Regions from separate parts of the Homo sapiens genome. Here regions 2, 3, 4 and 5 are each linked to region 1. The links are contacts of gene promoters, found by promoter capture Hi-C in blood cells and fetal thymus (Javierre and others, 2016). All regions are on one chromosome and are shown on one strand. The core of a region is centred on a gene start or on the middle of the fragment in contact, and the rest is flanking DNA. Distances in the headings are between cores, read along the strand shown. Region 1 holds the start of EIF3A (eukaryotic translation initiation factor 3 subunit A). Region 2 overlaps INPP5F (inositol polyphosphate-5-phosphatase F). Region 3 overlaps BAG3 (BAG cochaperone 3). Region 4 has its middle 28 kb from the start of PRLHR. Region 5 holds the start of LOC105378512 (a long non-coding RNA gene).

Evidence for each region. Contacts are between HindIII fragments. The CHiCAGO score rates a contact against its expected background, and 5 or more counts as called.
Region 2: a contact is called between a fragment that was not itself captured here and the fragment with the promoter of EIF3A in region 1, in 1 of 17 cell types (fetal thymus). The highest score is 5.9, in fetal thymus.
Region 3: a fragment that was not itself captured here is called in contact with the fragment with the promoter of EIF3A in region 1 in 1 of 17 cell types (fetal thymus); the score reaches 5.6 in fetal thymus.
Region 4: a contact is called between a fragment that was not itself captured here and the fragment with the promoter of EIF3A in region 1, in 1 of 17 cell types (M1 macrophages). The highest score is 6.2, in M1 macrophages.
Region 5: a contact is called between a fragment that was not itself captured here and the fragment with the promoter of EIF3A in region 1, in 16 of 17 cell types (fetal thymus, erythroblasts, non-activated CD4 T cells and 13 more). The highest score is 16.3, in fetal thymus.

The regions. Positions count from the first base shown.
Region 1 is chr10:119,079,545-119,082,108 of GRCh38, reverse strand. It overlaps EIF3A (eukaryotic translation initiation factor 3 subunit A), which reads left to right and starts at 1,292. Exons shown (of 22, transcript NM_003750.4): 1 at 1,292-1,481. The coding sequence starts at 1,433. RefSeq lists enhancers at 1,078-1,372, 800-1,562 and a silencer at 1,568-1,827. The HindIII fragment of the contact is 5,277 bases long and covers 1-2,564 here.
Region 2 is chr10:119,826,911-119,829,474 of GRCh38, reverse strand. INPP5F (inositol polyphosphate-5-phosphatase F) reads right to left here. Exons shown (of 20, transcript NM_014937.4): 20 at 328-2,564. The coding sequence ends at 1,695. It overlaps MCMBP (minichromosome maintenance complex binding protein), which reads left to right. Exons shown (of 16, transcript NM_001256378.2): 16 at 1-35. Among named protein-coding and RNA genes, the nearest start is that of MCMBP, 45 kb to the left of the region's middle. The HindIII fragment of the contact is 7,246 bases long and covers 1-2,564 here.
Region 3 is chr10:119,654,205-119,656,768 of GRCh38, reverse strand. The region is part of intron 1 of BAG3 (BAG cochaperone 3); the gene reads right to left. Among named protein-coding and RNA genes, the nearest start is that of BAG3, 4.1 kb to the right of the region's middle. The HindIII fragment of the contact is 928 bases long and covers 809-1,736 here.
Region 4 is chr10:118,566,413-118,568,976 of GRCh38, reverse strand. No RefSeq gene overlaps it. Among named protein-coding and RNA genes, the nearest start is that of PRLHR, 28 kb to the left of the region's middle. The HindIII fragment of the contact is 5,456 bases long and covers 1-2,564 here.
Region 5 is chr10:119,593,336-119,595,899 of GRCh38, reverse strand. All of the region lies in intron 1 of TIAL1 (TIA1 cytotoxic granule associated RNA binding protein like 1), which reads left to right. It overlaps LOC105378512 (a long non-coding RNA gene), which reads right to left and starts at 336. Exons shown (of 2, transcript XR_946358.3): 1 at 1-336. The HindIII fragment of the contact is 2,099 bases long and covers 229-2,327 here.

The DNA.
Region 1 (2,564 bases), core at 43-2,542:
GTGATCCACCCGCCCCAGCCACCCAAAGTGCTGGGATTACAGGCGCGACCCACCATGCCCGGCCGATTTCCTCATTCATTAATTCACATATCTCGTCTATTAAATGTGTAATACATTGACAATAATCTATTTCACTGCTGCCTTCTAAATTTTCCTTCTGGGCTGGGCGCGGTGGCTCACGCCTGTAATCCCAGCACTTTGGGAGGCCGAGGAGGGCGGATCACGAGGTCAGGAGATCGAGACCACGGCGAAACCCCGTCTCTACTAAAAATACAAAACATTAGCTGGGCGCAGTGGCGGGCGCCTGTAGTCCCAGCTACTCGGGAGGCTGAGGCAGGAGAATGGCGTGAATCCAGAAGGCGGAGCTTGCAGTGAGCCGAGATCGTGCCACTGCACTCCAGCCTGGGCGACAAAGCGAGACTCCGTTTCAAAAAAAAAAAAAATTTTTTTCCTTCTGAGCTCACCTTTATTTCGTACCAAGGGCTTGAGAATTAGATTCGGTTCAAATGGTTTTCAAATTCTAGGTAAAGTACTTCGTCTGCGAACATTAAAATTGTTAAGCAACAATAAAAGGGCCTCTCAGATTGATTTTTTTCACTAACACTAATTTTTCTTAATTTGTTTGTGACGTGCGCTGTATGTAAAAAGTGACGACACTCCTTTCCGTGTGTTTTCAAACACCAAGCAAGTCTGCTGTGCTCCAGGGCGTTTCGCCCTTTGCCAGGTCGCTGTCCCCATTCGCCCCCTCTGAGAGCCTCCATTTCTCAAGGCAATCCCTGTGACACAAACTTTTTACTTTACCAAGATATAAAAGAACCTTGCTTGTTTATTTTAGGCGTCACTCTTCCCCATGATTGTCTCTCACGGTTGAGCGGCGCTGACCTGATGACACCTGCTCACTGCGTTTTCGTTAAACTCAGCATTTTCACGTAGCCAAGACAGGCGATTCCCAGGCTGGATGGGACCTTACTGTAACTGCACGACTCCGCACAAGTCGCTTTGAAAACCAATCTGCAGACGTTTGCTTGTTCTCCAGACAGAAACTCTGACCCCACACTCACCCTTCCCACCCTAATTCTCGCTCGAAGATTGAAGAGCCTGTGAACTGTCTCCCTAACGCTATCCAGGACAGGCCCAAGACGGGAACTGGACCTTGCGCGCCTAGGACTCCGGCGCCGCCACGTCTGTCGGCGTGCGTGACGCCAGCGCGCTTGCGCGCACGGAGACCCGCCCCCTACATCCGGGGCCTGGGCGGCAGCAGGGCCGCCGCGGGGAGGTCACGTGGCTCCTTCCTTTCCGTCTCTGGCCGGCTGGGCGCGGGCGACTGCTGGCGAGGCGCGTGGGACCTTACGCTGGTTCCCCTTCGTCTCCTCTCCCGGCCCGGGCCACTAGAGAGTTCGCTGACGCCGGGTGAGCTGAGCCTGCCGCCAAGATGCCGGCCTATTTTCAGAGGCCGGAAAATGCCCTCAAACGCGCCAACGGTGAGTAGCTGATCGGGGCGCGCCGGGCTGGGGCGGCCCGAGGCCTCCGAGGTCGAGAGCGCGGGCCTGCTTCCCACTGCTCCGCCGCCCGGCCCGCGCGGGGAGAGGAGACCGATGCGGCCTGCCCGCCGCTGTCCCAGCCGGTGGTTGGGCATGGGTTTCCTTCTCACTCTATCGACTGGGGTCTGGGAGGCGCGTAGCCCGGAACCGTCGCCCCAGGGGCCTTTCCTTCCCCCTGCCGCCTCCGGGTGCGTCGCGGGGACCGCAGCCCGGGAGACAGCCCCTACCCGGACTGGAGCTCCCTCCTTGCTGCCTGCGTCCTCTGGCTCTCCAGGTCCCTGGGGCTTTGGTCTGCTTAGGGCCCGCGTCCCCGGCCGCCATCTGGGAGTGCCGGGGAGTAAGAAACATGGCTCCCTCCCGGGGACAATGCACGCGAGAGCCTCGGCTCCACCTCCTGCCCGGGCCGGGAGCCCTACGGACCCACCCCCGGCCTTCCCGCAGCCACCCCCGCTCTCCAAGCCGCGCTCAGTGCTTTGCTGGGTCGGCGTCCACTTACCCTTTACCCAGCTGCTTTATATCCACTTAGGGGCCTCTGACCCATTTAACCTGATTCCTGTTGTTTTGTTTTGTTTTTGTTTTTTCATTTTTCCTGGCATTGATTAGAAGCAGTCCTAAAGCCTGTTTCGAATCACTGGAAGTTGGAATAGAGTTAATGTAAAGGGACTTCAGGTCGCCTCTTAAAGATAACGAAACAGGCCTAGAGAGAGGTTTCCCCAAGGTCACTCCGGGAGTTGTTGAGCCAAGAGACTTAAAACCAACGTCTCTTGACATCCAGATCAGTCCTTTTTTCTCTTTTTTTCTGCCACAGTGCTGCTGTCTGCGATTTCTATTTCTATATGTGTACTTCAGCCATTGGCGCTTGAGGGAAAAACTTGTGTGCCCCGATCTCTCCAAGGCATTTATTACATTGGCGTTCTGGGGATGCACATGTTCTTGGCTAGGCTCTGGGCTTAAGAAACTTTGTGTAGGGTTTTTTTTTTCCCCTCTAACCGGACAATTTTTCTAATCGTTAGGGCATGGATA
Region 2 (2,564 bases), core at 42-2,541, 750 kb before region 1:
TTAAAATGATTTTTCAAAGATCTCTTTCGAACTAATTTCTGTAGAGTTTAAACGTGTATTTTATCACCTAATGTTGGGTTGTATTTTCTCCCATGTTGGGAACCCTTAATATTTTCAGGACCCGGAAGAAAAGTTGGTAGAAGCAAGCATTCAGTTTTGAATGTTTGGATTTAAAGTATAGTTTCTGATCCATTTCCCTTTTTACATCATGAGTATATTTCAAAGGAGTAACATACTGGCAACAGCTAGACCAAGTGTTCAGTTATAGCAAATCTGCCGTTTACAAATTCTTTAATCTGTTATGCAAGGAATTCTCATACCCATTTGTCACTTTAAATTACAATGGTACTTTATTTTAATAATCACAAGATTTAACACGTAAAAAAAAAAGATAGCACTAATAAATAACAAAAGTGGAATGCTTATCAAAGTAACGACATAATGTTCAGTTGAGAATCAGTCACTTCAACAGAGTAAAGCTCTAAAGACACCAGACGAACCAATACTTGTTGGAATATGCCATACAACTTTCTTACTGTGGGGATTACAGGGGCAGCCCTGGTTCTGTGTGGTCAGAGTTATAGTCAGACAGATTCAGCACAATTGTGTTTCAGACTAAATTGTTTTTGAGACACGGTCTTGCTCTGTCCCCCAGGCTGGAGGTCAGTGGCACGATCACAGCTCACTGCAGCCTCAATCTCATGGGCTCAAGCAATCCTCCTGCGTAGCTAGAAACACAGGCATGCACCACTATGCCCAGCTAATTTTTGTATTTTTTTGTAGAGACAGATGTTTCCCAGGCTGGTCTCAAAACTCCTGGCCTCCCAAAGTGTTGGGATTATAGGTGTGAGCCACTGCACTAGGCCCAGACTAAATTTTGAAGTTGTGGATCATCTACATAAGATGTCGAGGATGCCCCTCCTGGAATAAATTAAAACCTGACTGACTTCTAGAATTTCCAGTAGCCAATATGGGTGTTCTTACATTCCTGAAAACAGCAAAATGAAACCTAATAGGTGCTGGTATTCACCTCTGATGTATCAGGTTTACTGTGTGACAAGTCTTAATGCTCCTAGGTTTACATTGTATAGGCAGCAGAGTATTTTTAATGTGTTCAAGTAGAATACGGGGAAAATTAGGATCAAATGAGAATTCATTTCTCTAGTGTCAATAACCCTCAACTCCTCAGGGAACAGTTAAGCCATCAAAACTAAAATAGCTTTATATTCAAATGCTTCAGTAACATGTTAAAGTCACTAAAAACTAAATGTGTAATTTACTTTGTAGAGGTAAGAACACACAGGAATGAACTGACAAACAGAACAAATTATGAAAAACGCTAATCCCCTAAGCATCTGCATGTCCAGCCCTTGTGTCTACTGTAGTCTACCCACCCCACTCCAAAAAAAGGTTCAGGTTATATCCCAAAGTGACCTGTTGCTGAATTACTTTCAAATAAGCAAAGTGCTCTGTAGTGTATAAGCTACTCAGGTCTACACATTCTAGAATGATGCACTTCTGTAGTCCTGGCTGTAAAATTTGGAAATCTACTCAGGTTCCGACTCCGTTTAAAACCCTTTCCAATGAACAGAATTTGTGATCCCTGGGTTCAGACAGTACAATTAAAATACCCCAAGAGGTGAAAATTTCATATTTTTAAATAAAAGCCATGGAAGGATTCTTATGGCTAAAAGCTAAATCTGAATTATCCGTGTCTGGCATTGTATAAACATCTTTTTAAGTTCATTTTGCTGGACTTGATTAATGATTTCAGGTTCTGGAGGACTCTTCTGAACTTTTGACACTGCAAAGTTTATCCCATGGGTTAATCCAGCTTGGGTAATACTAGCAACCTGGACCATGGAACTTCGAATCTTGGCAAAGGGAGAGACTGCTCTGCTGCTACTGCTCTCTGAAGGAGAAGGAGTTACATGAAGCCCTGTCTCAAGTTCAAGCATGCTGGAAGCGGAGGTGGGGGTTTTTTGAGATGCAACTGAATGCGCTGGCTCAACTGACAAAAACTGTGGGCCTGTTGCAGAAAGAGAGACATCTAATTGCGATGGCCGAGAAGGTGTCTGTTCTGTTGATTCTGATTGGGTTTCATTTGAAACTTGATTGGTCATTTGATTTCTTTCCTGACTAGCCTGCTGAGACACAGATCTGGTCTCTGATAGGTGGGTCACTTTGTTCTGTGCATCTTGCACAAATCTGTGGCAGTAAATATCCATAGGCTTGGCAAAGCCAGTCAATATGTGTACGTCGCCAGCAGAAGGACTTTTCTTCAAAGGAGACTCCTGGCCTTTTCCAAGCCCACTCCCATGAGCAACAGTAATCTCTGAAGGAGCATGAACGCTACTATCTGTGCTGCTAAGAGACTGGGACCGACTGCCCAATCGAGGCGCTGAGGCAATAATACCACAACTAGGAAGAACGTAATCTATTGGCCCTACACTCTCTAATGAGTTAGCTAGCTGCCTGTCTTCATCAGACTTAGAATTTGTAAGGAATTCATCAGAGTGGTATGAGTCATTATCTGAAGACATGTCCCCATCAGACTCTGCCTG
Region 3 (2,564 bases), core at 23-2,522, 570 kb before region 1:
AAATACTACATTCATTCCTCTCCCCCCAAATTCTTCCTAAGCTTTTGCAAGCTGCCTGGCTTCCTAAAAGGCTGCCAAGGTCCCAAAGATACCTTCATCGAAATACGTGACGACTTAGTAACACCAGATACCTCACATGGTATCACATGTGCCACATGATGCATACAGATGAATCCTGCACCTGCAAAACAAGGGGCTCTGGAGCCTGCCTCAGACGGCCGGCTGATGGGCATGGTGGCGCTCACCTATAATCCTAGCTACTTGGGAGGCTGAGGCAGGAGAATCGCTTGAACCCAGGAGACGGAGGTTGCAGTGAGCCAAGATCGCACTACGGCACCCCAGCCTGGGAGACAAAGTGCGACTCCGTCTCAAAAAAAAAAAAAAAAAAAAGAAGGCCAGCTGAGTCTATGCTCTGAGGCAGAAGCAGATCAGAGGTGTCTACTTGACTCACAACAAAAGGGAACCCAGGAGGGGCTGGAGAATAACACGGTCAAGTGTGACACAGGGTTCACTCGTGTTCGCCAGTGCCAGAGGGTCTCAAAGATCCTAATAAGCAAGGCCTTTGTCTTCAGTTTCTTCTGTAAGCTCTCTTAAACATTTAAGAGCAATATTAAAACAGCAAAACTTAAAGGAGAAAGAGTAGGTCTGGATGATGAATGGTTTTCTACTTTGGATGATAAACATCAGAACATCATTTTTAAATGTCAATAGAAAGTAATAAACATGTAGAGTGGTTTATATAAGGTGACTGTGTGTCATTCCAGAAACGAGGACAGCACTAAGCAAGCCTCATGGGTGGTATGAAGCTTTCTGACTCACAAGCAGCCCTGATAGCATCCAACAGTTAAGCCTTCCCAGCCCTGGCCAACGTCAAACGCTGCCGCAGGTCCTGTGTACAGGCTCCACCCTCATAAAGGGCAAATCTACCCTACAAAACGGGACAAATGATGTTCTCGGAGGTGCAGTCGGTTCTCATGTGAACAACACAGGCTGTTCTTCAGAGGGGAAAATGAAAGTCCTGGATGAGCTGGGCTCCAAGGCATCTGGCCATGCTGTTCATCTGCCCCCCAACAAATCACTTTCATGCAGTCGCACAGGAACTTGCTCAGCCACAACTGCAACTTGCTGGAAATACGAAGGAGAGAACGGCCACTCATTTCCTGATTGTGCTCCGCCTCTGCTAAGAGGCATAACAGCTTGCAATAGATCTGGAAAGAGCAAAACGATCTCATCTTTAAGAAAATTCAGGAGGCTCTGCTGAACCTTAAGCAAAATAAATGGGTCTCTCTACTTCAATCATAACTCGAAACATTTCCAGTGTTATCTGAAAGGATGTTTCTATCTCCCTGTCACAGTGCCTGAGTATAATCTGTTAAATGATTATGGTGAGATTCTGCCAGATGGGCAAGACAAAAAGAAAAGGCTCTGGCTTGCTTCTTCCTGGGGTCCAGGAAGATCTCTGGACCACCTCCCCACTCTCGCACTGCCAGCCACCCTGCCAGACTTTGCAAGGTGCTGTCTCGGCTCGCTTCCCATGTCATCCCCATATTCACACCTCCAGAAGCCCGCGTACCTGGGGAGTTTCCCCAAGAAGGAAAATGGAGGCTTGGGAAAATGCTCTGCAGGATAGATGTTCAGGAGGCACTAAGCCGCAGCTCCTCCTCCCCAAAATGGGATCACTGGCCATCCGTGGCTCCCACTGCCAGTGCAGCAGAATCAGAACCACCAAAAAAGCTTTCTGGACTTAATAGTTTTCTGGGCCCTACACTGAGCAATTCAGATTTGAACATGGGGTTGGGGCAGGGAGGCGATGAGACACAGCCACAATCTGTGTTCTTAACAGGACTCCCTGGAGAGTGCCAGACTGGTAACCCCCAAGATCCATGGAGCTAGAGCGGCCCTGCTCCATGAGGGAGGAAGGTCTCCCTCTCATCCCAAGGAGGCCTGGCGGGAACAGCACTCCAGAACATCCGGCCTCTGTTTATTCAGGGAGGAGCCTGGAGGAGTGGCTGCACCAGCACTGAATGCCATCCTCTGCCAGGAAAGGGCCTGGACTGGTATGAACTTGCCAAATTAGTGGGAAGCCCAAGTGTGCAGAAAATCAAAATCCAGGAAGACTGCAGGTGGGGAGGCCCAGCTGCTTAGAATGGGGCTGGATGAAGCCCAGCATCTTTGCCGGGAGCCGTCCTGCTTCAGCAATGACAGAAGATACTTGCTTTCGCTCTGCCCCTCTGTGAAAACAGGGAGTTGTCCTAACTACTTCAGGAGAAGGCGGAAGATCAACTGCAAGACGGCAGTAGAAGACGAAATAAAATACAAAGGTCTAGTCTTTTCTTTCCATTTTCTTACTAACGTGATTAAATTTTAAACATCCTGAAGCTGAGTCCTCCCCCAAAAGAGAGGTCGTCTCTTGAGCTCCTCATGCTCAATGAACAGCTTTTTACTGATTGACAGCATTTCCTCTTGAAGATGATGATGCTCAGACGGGCCTCAGCTCAGCTCCTCCAAAATCGCCCTTTGTTTTCTGCAAGGGCCTTTTTCTCATTATGCATTGAGAAGCCAAT
Region 4 (2,564 bases), core at 43-2,542, 510 kb after region 1:
CTCACTCTGTCACCCAGGCTGGAGTGCAGTTGCGCGATCTCAGCTCACTGCAACCTCCGCCTCCTGGGTTCAAGTGATTCTCCTGCCTCAGCCTCTTACAATTTCTTGATCTCAATAATTCCAAGAAAGTCAGGCAATGGCCTCGGATCAGAGCCATGTGTTCAAGGCCAGTAAGGCAGCAGTATCTAGTCTGGCCCATGTGTTGACTGAGAACAGAGAAGCAGCAACTCAAATCACCACATTTCACAGCCATCTGAAAAGTTCATAGCCGGGTGCCCAGACAACTCCAGAAGTCCATCTTACGGCCTGTTTACACAGACCAGAGTCTGGTTTGAAGGACAATTAGATTGTGGTGGGTAGTGGGGAGCTGCCTAGGAACACTTGCTTCCCCTCCAGATATTAAAAAGGAAAACCGAAACAAACCCCCAAATCCTCGTGGAGTGAGACGATCACTTTCAGCTCGCAAAGTGTAGGCCCCAAACTATGTGAGCCTTGATCACCACCTTGTGGCAAAGAGTGGAATTTTTCTAGGATGGACTTTTAACTTTTCACTTTTTTTTTTTTTTTTTTTTCTCTGAGACGGAGTTTTGCTCTTTCACCCAGGCTGGAGTGAAGTGGCACGATCTCGGCTCACTGCAACCTCCACCTCCCAGGTTCAAGCAATTCTTCTGCCTCAGCCTCCCTAGTAGCTGGGATTATAGGCACCCACCACCATGCCAGGCTAATTTTTGTATTTTTAGTAGAGATGGGTTTTTACCATGTTGGCCAGGCTGGTCTTGAACTCCTGACCTCGGGTGATCCACCTGCCTCGGCCTCCCAAAATGCTAGGATTACAGGTGTGAGCCACCGTGCCCGGCCTGGACTTTTTCCCGGGAAAATGCTTCAGCTGTGGGAAGGAAGGAACAAAGGGAGGGAGGGAGAGAGAGAGGACTCATTAGATGCCGTTGCACGGCCTGTCCTATGGAGAACCATTTAGTCTCCTCAACTGTGGCAAGAACGTAACCAGAATAACTCATGAATTAGATAGTAGACTAGCACTGGGCCTAGCGGGACTCCATGCCGGGGACACAGAAGTCACACATTACCCACCATGTGGAGAACCTGCTAGGCCGCAGATGCAAGCTCAGCTTCCACCTGTGGTGAGAACCAGCTCCAGTCCTTGTAGGAGTGGAAAGCCCAGATAATACAATGTGACCTGGCAAGCACTGTTTCAGAATATGAGAAGTGTCCCATGGGGGCCCTGGAGAGGGAGGCACTGTCTCTTCCCACAGACCCTGCAGGCCAGCTCAGAGCAGGCACGCCATAAATGCTTGACGAAGGAATGTCGGTGGTTTCTCCTAGATTCCCCATTTTCCATTCTGTTTCTTCCGACGGACATATTCCCAGGGCTAAAATTAATCTCTGACACATTTCCAACTTTCTTGACATAGGTATTTCCTCTGTCACTGCTGGCCTACAGTTTGTCTTCCTATCCAGGATTTTAGGACCAATACTTCCCCTAGCCAATGACAAAGATTCTTTGCTTGGCCAAACTTCAGTCAGCCTCCTGCACCTTCTCTTAGGCCCACCTCTGTGCACTTCTTGTAAAATCCAGCTTTAGCAAGAGTCCTGCTAAGTCAGGTTAGCTAGACCCCTCCACTCCCAGCTGTCATTCTCCATTTCTGATCACTCTCGATATCTGGTCGGGTTCCTCATCTTTTACCACTGCCCTGGGGAGGTCTGATCTTCCTGGCCTGTCTTCAGCAAGAATCCCCTTGGCCCCTAATGTTTCCTCTTAGCCATTTCCACCCGCTGACCCCCACGCTGCTCCTTTGCTCCAACACTCCACCTGCCCTTGCAAGTGGGAGTTGAGCCCGGTTCTCTATTCTCCCTATTGCAATAGTCCTGAGTAAAATCGGTTTTTACCCCTTAACTGATGTCCAGCTCAGGTTTTTGACTCCAGCGCTTGTCCCATCAATGAAGAACTCATTGTCTATACAGTGCCTGACTGCACACTCTAGACTCAGAAGGCACAGCTTCAAATAGGACCCTCCACCCTGAGCCTGTGTTCATGGAACTGAAGTCGTTTTCACCACATCATCTTACACACACGAGCCAGGAGAGCAGACTGGCCAGCAGAGCCAGGTTCCCTGGAGCCCTGCAAAGCCCACAAACACCCGAGCTGTGGGGTGGCTTTGCAGCTTCTCTACCAGCCACCCCACCACAGGGCAGGACTCAGGCATGCTGAGGGCCCAGACTTGGTTGTGACCTCATCATCTCTGCCAGCATCTTGGTCTCCTTCAGCTGGCGGAGACCTGACCAGATTAAGGGGACCCCAGGCCCTAGCCTTCTCCCTGGAGTGTGTGGAAACATGCCTGCTCTCACCCACGATCGCCTTGTGCCACTCCCATTTGGGCGTTAGAGTCTCTCAGTGTCTCACTTTGTCAGCTGTTTCATTTGTACAAAATACAACAGGGAACAGCCTGGGTCATAGTAGAGGAATCATTAATTATGTAAACAACTCCATATTTGGGAGCCAGTGCCAGACGCTAAGCCCTGGGGATAGAGCAGTGAACTGAACCTGG
Region 5 (2,564 bases), core at 29-2,528, 510 kb before region 1:
TCTCTCTTTATGCCCCACGTGCCCCCGCCCACGCTGTCAGAAACACCCGCCTAGCGCCCGCTACTTTTGAAGTACATAAGGGATACCTTTTGCTGCCCGAGCATCTTTCCCTTCTTGGATAAAGAAGTTTACTTTGAGCGCTCCCTACGCTAAACTGACAACCAGTTGTTAAACTCCTTTTGCTCTCTAGGTGTTGCCTCTTCCTAATCTGTTTGTGCGTCGAAAGCTTCAGAGTTGGCTAAAATTATGTCTTCATCCGCTATTTGATGTGTGTCTTCTGAACGCTTTTTCTCCTGTCTTGCTGTTGCTTTTTACCTGAAGCTCAATCTAATGAATGAATTCCATCTTCCAACCACTTAATTCTGGTTTCCTTCCTTTCCAATGAAGAGTGATGACTCAGCATTTGCATTCCTTTCTGAATAGTGTGGCACTCCTTTTCTCTGCATCTTTTTTTTTTTTTTTAAGTCTGAATACTTTTTAATTAAATGTTTAAATTGGGCACCCTAATTTCCCGGCCTCTCCAGGTCTAGCACTCCTACCTTGAGTACCAAGGAGTCAGATCGCTGCTTTGTTTCTCTTGCCTCTCCTGGTATTGATAGGATCATAGTCCACTTGGCTCTGCTCTCTGATGGGGAAATTGCTTTTTAGGGAATAGATGAAGGTGGAGGGGCACTCGAGAAGTTTGACTAGCTTCACATCTCTTCACTCCTACCAAAGAAAGGATGCTCAGTAAAGAAGATAGATGTTCAGTATTGATAGAGATTTTTTTGGTGTGGCCTTGTACAGGAATAAATGTGTTCTCTAACGTCTCACTGAAGTATCCGTCCCGTTTTGAGAATCTGAGGCCTACTGAAGCACATCCAATGCTTCAATGAAACGCCTGCTTAATAGAACGTCTTTGTGTTTTGTGTTGTCTTCCATTTCTGCCTTCTCTCCCTAGAAGAAAGAATTGGGACACACTTGAAATTTGTCCTTCAGGCCGGGCGCAGTGGCTCACGCCTGTAATCCCAGCACTTTGGGAGGCCGAGGTGGGCGGATCACGAGGTCAAGAGATCGAGACCTTCCTGGCCAACACGGTGAAACTCCGTCTCTACAAAAAACACAAAAATTAGCTGGGCGTGGTGGCGCGCGCCTGTAGTCCCTGCTACTTGGGAGGCTGAGGCAGGAGAATCACTTGAACCCAGGAGGCAGAGGTTGCAGTGAGCCGAGATTGCACCACTGCACTCCAGACTGGTGACAGAGCGAGAGTTCGTCTAAACAATTAAAAAAAAAATTTTATCCTTCAACATCTGTTGAAGCCAAGACTTGGTGTTGAGTTACAATGTGTACTTTGATATAAGCATCTGGGAAAGCTAGGCTTAAAGACTAGCTAACATGTATTTAACAAAGATAAAAGTTACATTGTATCTAAAAATCTGAAGTATCATCACACACTGAATGATTGATAAATACTCATGGCAGGGGTCTCATTTACTGTATCTGTTCCTTACCAAGAGGAATCTCTGGTTTTGTAGTGCTAAAGAATGTGCTTTTTTGATGTCTTTTATTTATCTTTGCATCTGCCTTGCCTTCATCCCTATCAGAGTTTCTCCAGGGGAATAATAAGCTAACTTCTTTGTCACTTATTTCCTTCCTCTACCTTCTCTAATCTCTTGTTCTTTCTTTGAAACAGTTAAGTTGTCTATGTTTACAGTTCTCTAAAACTGTGACATGTTCATATGAATAAATAAACATCTTAACTCTGTTGTTTTGTATGTCAGTACGTGTTTACTATTCTGTCTTCCTTTTTCCTTCTCCCACCCTTTTCCATAGGGCCTTTTTTTTTTTTTAAGAGAAGGACTACTACATCTTCCTAGGTCTTACCCCCACAGCACTTAGTTCACTGCCTGGAACATAAGAGGTACTCAGAATTTCTACAGTGATTATACTTCTTTCATTAAATTAGTATTAAGTTCTTTTTTAAAAGTCCTGGTTGAACTAAGATTGTAGGCAGACATTACTGTCACATGTGGTGCAGTCTGTTGACTTTTATATATTTTTTAAAACCTTCAAATGTAAAATCTTGAGATAAAAGCAAATGTTTAACAATTGGGATTTTTATTAGAGTTTAATACAAATAATGCATAGTTTTTCTAAGTGTACGTTTTACATATTCTCAAAGGGTTCTATTAGATATAAGTAACATGATGAAAACTGAACATGATTTTAGACGTTGATATCTAGTAGGGTTTTTTGTTTATGGAGATCTTATATTTTACATTGTGAGCTATGGATTAGGTTTTTCAAGTGGCCAGTATGTTTTAAAAGAATGTGTTCTTAACAAAGCTTATCTTAAATTGTTTCCTTAAGATGCCTGTGTGTTACTAGTGAGGTTTTTTTCCTGCAGACACACACAAGCTAAGACATATGGTTCTATCTTCAGAAAACAATATGGTGTTTAGAGCCTAGGTAGGTCTTTAAATATTCATTACCTACAGTATTACTAATTTATTTGATGGTATTTAAAGTGGCAAGAATTGCTTTGATGTTGAGCCTAAATTTCTATTTGTCATATAGTTGCTTTA